Regions from separate parts of the Homo sapiens genome. Here region 2 is linked to region 1. Evidence: promoter capture Hi-C in human tissues and cell types (Jung and others, 2019). All regions are on one chromosome and are shown on one strand. The core of a region is centred on a gene start or on the middle of the fragment in contact, and the rest is flanking DNA. Distances in the headings are between cores, read along the strand shown. Region 1 holds the start of LCORL (ligand dependent nuclear receptor corepressor like). Region 2 overlaps LOC107986262 (a long non-coding RNA gene).

Evidence for each region. The method cuts DNA at HindIII sites, captures the fragments that hold promoters and counts their contacts. A contact is called where the count stands out against the background at its distance.
Region 2: a fragment that was not itself captured here is called in contact with the fragment with the promoter of LCORL in region 1 in 1 of the 25 tissues and cell types used here (dorsolateral prefrontal cortex).

The regions. Positions count from the first base shown.
Region 1 is chr4:18,020,308-18,023,415 of GRCh38, forward strand. LCORL (ligand dependent nuclear receptor corepressor like) reads right to left here and starts at 1,448. Exons shown (of 8, transcript NM_001394446.1): 1 at 1,291-1,448. The coding sequence starts at 1,444. RefSeq lists silencers at 660-989, 1,310-1,769 and an enhancer at 1,820-2,079. The HindIII fragment of the contact is 18,207 bases long and covers 1-3,108 here.
Region 2 is chr4:18,224,439-18,227,466 of GRCh38, forward strand. It overlaps LOC107986262 (a long non-coding RNA gene), which reads left to right. Exons shown (of 3, transcript XR_001741598.1): 3 at 2,206-2,327. Among named protein-coding and RNA genes, the nearest start is that of LCORL, 200 kb to the left of the region's middle. The HindIII fragment of the contact is 5,253 bases long and covers 1-3,028 here.

The sequences.
Region 1 (3,108 bases), core at 198-2,697:
GAGAGTTGTTTTCTTAAGACACTAGGGTTACTCCCCAACTCCAAATGCCAAGATTCACTCGCCAGTAGAGCAAGCTGCTGCCACTATCCACTGCTTACACAATACAACCTTCCTTTCTACCTCTTCCCCTACACTCCCACCCATAACCCCCTTCCAAAACAAACACCCACAACGCGCCCCATTCCATAATCCGTGTTCGCCCCTCTAAGCCCACTAAACCAACCTGCTGGATAACAGCTCTATGCATTCGTCTTAGGCAAAAAAAGAAAAAAAAAAAAGCGACTGCAGCAAGGTCGGGAGTCCCACCATTCCTGTCACCCTAAACAATCCACAGGGTGAGAGCCCCAAGCCCAGAAGTTTGAGGCAAAACGATTCAGATCCAACCAAAAAGAGGGAATTGCAGTTGAATGGGGATGGGAGGTGGGGAGGGCGATGCGTATGCGTGTATATGTGTGTGTGTGTGTAAGGAAGAGTCCATCACATGACAGTGAAAGAGGACCAGAGTCGTCGGGGCGTCCGCAAGCAGACGGGGGGGAGGGTGTCGTTGCCGTGGCAACACCCCCCATCCGTCCAGACTTCCAAAGAGGGAGGAAGAACTTCAAATCCCAACCGTCAGCGCTCAAGCGGCTCCTTCTTAAAGGGGTACACACAGCGCCGCCGCCGAGCGCGAGAGGGCAGAGTTGGGCGCCCCCCGCCCCTCGGACGACGCCCCCGCCGCCCCTCGCCCCCAGCCGGCCCATCAGCGGCCCCCGCCCTGCGAGTGCCCGTGGGTCTCCAGGTCCAGGTCCCCGGGAACTGGCCGCGTCTGCTCACCCGGCCCCCGGCGGCGACAAGGGGGTGTGTGTGCGCTCGGCGGGGGCGCGGACCAGCCCGCCTTCCTCCGGCCGCCCTGCCCGCCGGCTCTCCTCCGCCAGGGCGCCGACCCACCGGGCCGCTTCCTCCGTCCTGTCAGGGTGGACGGCGGGCGACGGCGGGCAGCGACGGGCGCCGAGGAGTTTCGGGGAGAGAGCGAGCGGGCGGCTTCCGCGGGGGCTCAGCAAGCGGGTCCAAACTAACAGTTCCCGGGGAGCCCAAGAGCTGGGAAGGCGAAGGAGCGCGGACCGCGCCGGGCCAGCAGCCCGCAAGACAAAAGGCGAGCGCCGGGGCCGCCGCGCCGCGCCGCTCCCATCTCGCTCCCCCACCGAACTAACCCGAACGGGAGATTCAACTAAACCCCTCAGCCACAAACTCCTCGGGCTGCGACAGCGGTCGCCGCGCGGAGCCCGGGGCCCCGGCCCGCGTCTCTCTTACCTACACAGTGCATGAGGCGGTGGCGCCAAGAGTCGAGTTCCCGCCGGAATCCTCTTCTCTCCGCCGCGCACCGAGGGCTCCGGCACTGAGCGGCGGCGGCGGCGGCGGCAGCAGCGGCGGCGGCAGCGGCCATTCTCTCTCTTCCCTTGTCCATCTGCGTCCCGCGTCACGCGCCCTCATTTACATACGAGCAGCGCAGGCACGAGGCAGGGGCGCGAGCCCTCGGCGCGAGCCCCGGAGCGCGCGCCCCCCGGAGGGGGGTTGATTGACACGTGTCACTACCTTCCCTCTGCCCTGCCCTCCCCCTCCCACCGCTCCCTCAGGGAGAGGCGGGGAGGGAGCCAGAGGAGAAGGAAGCAACCTGCCGCTTCCGCTGACCCCGCCTCCCCACCCACTACCCTCCTCCCCCTCCCGCTGGAGTTTACTCAGGCGAGCCATACCGCTCCCGCCGCCCGCGAAAACCCTGAGCGGGAGCGAGAGACCCGGAGCCCAGCCAGGAACCGGCGTGCTAGTGGAGCGGACTAGCAACGCCTACTTTCTGCCTTCACTACGGGACTCCGACAGTCCGGAGACTTCACTTCCCAGGCTCCATTTCGCCAGGATCCCGAAGCTGAACTTGGCGCCGTGGCGCGTTGCTTGCCGGTCATTGTAGTCCAGAAGAAAGGATTTTTTTTGTTTGTTTGTTTTTCTTCCCCCCCGCACTTGGGTATGCAGGCTGGCCTGCAACTTCTCTGCGCCGCGCCGCTGGGGGGCTGAGTCTGTCGCTCCCTGCGCCCGGAACCATGCGCTGCCCGGTGGCCGGGTCTGACCCGACTGCTTTAGCTTCCTTAGGCTCCGCGATAGAAGGGTGGTGGAAGCCGCAAGAGTTGTCGGCTCCTTGTGGGTTCAGGCTGCGCTTTGCGTTTTAAGTGCTGGAAACTTTCCGGGGTCGCTGTCTTCCTGTCACTCCGCAGGGAAAGGGCAAGCCGGTCATTCGGCTACATCTGGAATAACTGCCAAACGTCCAGAGAGAGATCCCGGAGTGACTTCGGTATTCAAGGCGAAGAGATCTCGGAAAGCCAGAATATTTGCAAGGACTAGGAAAAAGATGCGGGTTTTTTTCACTGAAAATTACTTGCAGGGGACTGGGTGTAGCCGGCTGAAAACTGCAGAAGGAAAATTTTCTTTATAAGCTCCTGGAGGGCAGCGACCCACTGAGATCTCTGTACCGTGACATCTGTCACTCGCTAGACCCTAGTACAGTGCGTGACACGGGATTAAGCACTTTACAAAGGTTAATGGAATGAATTCTACCACGTGCTAGAGAAAATAACTTCTTCAGAGAGAGCTAGAGAGGAATCTTACGTTTAAATACAGACTCCAATCACAGTTTTTACTTTTGCACCAGAGCGATTGTGCGTTTGTTTCCGTATAAGTGCAGTTTATCAAGCCGAAGCTAAGCTACCCAACGTTTGCTAAGAAGTACTGTGTATTTCTGGAAATTTATTCACAAGTCTGTGGGAAATATGTTTAATTCTTCTTGGAAATCTCATAAACTCTGAATTCAGTACCACCTTCCCTGTTTTGTGGCTTATCCTTATCCACCTTCTTTTTCTTCCTATGAGAAAGTATTTCTTTGCTCATTATGACTTCAGTAGTGAAGATGTAATTTTGCATCTTCATAAGTTAAAAATAATAAAGTTTGAACGCATAATCACCTTTTCTAGAACGGTCACAATTGGAGTGCAGGTGAAATCACTAGTGAAGGTGATTTTGGAATTGTCAGTGGATGGTTTTAGTTAACCACTTCCACTCACAATTGCCACGATGATCAGCCTT
Region 2 (3,028 bases), core at 122-2,621, 200 kb after region 1:
TTTGTGGTTTTATCTACCTTTGTTCTTTAATGTTGGTGACCTACCAATGGGGTTTTGATGTGGATGTCCTTTTTGTTGATGTTGATGCTATTCCTTTCTGTTCGTTAGTTTTCCTTCTAACACTCAGGCCCCTCAGCTGCAGGTCTGTTGGACTTTGCTGGAGGTCCACTCCAGGCCCTGTTTGCCTGGGTATCACCATCAGAGTCTGCACAACAGCAAGTATTGCTGCCTGATCATTCCTCTGGAAGCTTCGTTCCAGAGGGGCACCTGCCAGATGCCACCCATAGCTCTCCTGTATGAGGTGTCTTTCTCCCATGCTGGGAGAACCACTGCTCTCTTCAGAGCTGACAGGCAGGGATGTTTATGTCTGGAGAAGTTGTGCCCAGAGCTGCCCCTTCCCCTAAGTGCTCTGTCCCAGGGAGACGAGGGTTTCTCTATAAGTCCTTGACTTGGGCTGCTGCCTTTTTTTCAGATATGCCCTGCCCACAGATGTGGAATCTAGAGAGGCAGTTGGCCTTGCTGGGGTGCGGTGGGCTCTGCCCATTTCAAGCTTTCCAGCAGCTTTGTTTACACTGTGAGCATAAAACCACCTACTCAAGCCTCAGCAATGGTGGACACCCCTCCCCGCTCCAAGCTCCAGTGTCCCAGGTCAATCTCAGACTGCTGCACTAGCAGCAAGAATTTCAAGCCAATGGATCTTAGCTTGCTCGGCTCTGTGGGTGTGGGACGCACTGAGCCAGGCACAGGAGAGAATCTCCTGGTCTGCAGGTTGTAAAGAATGTGGGAAAAATGCAGTATTGAGGCAGGAGTGTATCCTTCTTCCTGGTACAGTCTCTCATGGCTTCCCTTGGCTAGGAAAGGGAAATCCCCCAGCTCCTTGTGCTTCCCAGGTGAGGTGATGCCCCACCCTGCTTTGGCTTGCCCTCCATGGGCCACACCAACTGTCCAACCAGTCCCATTGAGATGAACCAGGTACCTCAGTTGGAAATGCAGAAATCACCCATCTTCTGCGTCAGTCTTGCTGGGAGCTGCAGACTGGACCTGTTCCTATTTGGCCATCTTGGAAGAGTTCTCCCAAGTCCTACTCATATTTTGTGACCTAGTTTCAAGGCCACCATCTCCAAGAAGACTTCGTATATGCTCCCAAACATAAAGGGTCTGTCAGGGCTCTGAACTTGCTTACAACCTGATGCCTTTCCTAATGTGGCTGATCATGTTCTGTCTGGTTATTTCTCTTCTCTCCTGTACTTGATTTGAAAGCTCTTTGAGCACATGGGCTATGCCTCAGTTGTCTTTGTGTTTCAAAGACAAAGACAAACAAAGGCCCAAAAAATTAACCTCATCATTAGCCTCTGTTTATTCAAAGATAAACAAAGGCCAAATAAATTAAACTCATTGCTCAGCCCAAAGTATTGCATTTTAATTCTTTTGTGTGTTTTGTTTTGTTTTGTTTGAGACAGAGTCTTGCTCTGTCACCTAGGATGGAGTGCAGTGGCACAATCTCAGCTCACTGCAACCTCTGCCTCCTTGGTTCAAGCGATTCTTGTGCCTCAGCCTCCTGAATAGCTGGGATTACAGGCATATGCCACCATGCCCAGCTAATTTTTGCATTTTTAGTAGAGATGGGATTTTACCATGTTGCCCAGGCTGATCTCGAACTCCTGGCCTCAAGCAATCTGCCCACCCTGGCCTCCCAAAGTGCTGGGATTAACCATGCCTGGCTGCATTTTTAGTTGCTAATATGATAGTCACTGATGTTATCCTATAAAAGTAAAATAACATCTGAGAGACTATCATTTTTAATTGCAGTTAATTTATAAAATATCATTTACATAATACAATTTTCACATATTTTTGCTGTCACACAAAATGTCACCTACAATATGTTAGAGAGCTAGCAAGTCCTTCCACAAACTAAGAAATATATTTTCTCTATGAGAAAGAGAGGGTGTTTTCAACAGTTCTTGGTGAGTTATTTAAAGAAAGCTAAAATACAAATAATCAAAGCTACATAAATTACATAAAATCTACCCTTAAGCATTTGTTTTTCTCCCTGCCGTTTATATAGTATCTAATCAGTTACCATTAGTTGGTTTTGAACTTTCATACAGGTTAATCTTTCAAATCTACTGTGCACATTCGTTAGAGACTCACCTATGGTTAAAAAAATAATAATTCCCTTTTCTTGGTTTCATACATTTTTAGGAAGAGAGAGACATCAAGTAATTGCCTAGTTTGGACCACATTCTATAAGCAAGACTCTAGGTTTTCCCAGAGACTTGAGCATCCATGACATGCTGAAATATATACTGGGAAAAAGACCCTGCAGCCCCTTCATGAAGGTAAAACATTCCACATCCAATAACATTTAAGCAGCATTTAAGATTTTATTTTTAAAATTTAAAAAACTAGCTTTAAAATTCAGGCCAGAAAAATATATATTTATAATATTAAGTAGAGAAGTATGTGCAGAATTTGGTAAAATACAATACAAAAAAGTCCAAGTTTATAAAGAGACATTATCCTGAGACAGGGTATTGCAGTGTCTTTGAAGTGAGAAACAACTGTGCCCTCAATGGACAATAGTAGAGTTGCTCATAAGAAATTAAGGATCAAGAAAAAGGGCAGTGTATAGTAGAGCATGGGGAAGTGATAGAGTGGGCAGAAAAAAAAACAGTATGCCCATAGTATTGGCAGCAAAGTTACCAACCTGATCCTGAAGCCTTAGGTCTCACCTGTCCATCCACAATTGATACCGCCAACAGCAAACACGTGCCAAGAAGCCAGGCACAGTGCACCATTATGTTAATACTCTTATGTCCACCAACGTGGACCCTCTTATTTCATTCCTACTCTGTCCCTGCCCTGTGCTCATTTATCTGTTTCTTCCATACACTGATTCATTTGGACATTAAGTGCTTAACTGCCAGACTCTGTTCTTGAATGTGGGAATACCTGGTCAATATGATGAGGTTTTGGCCCTCATAGCACTAAGAATATAGTAAGAAATGCAGAGAAACAAACATTT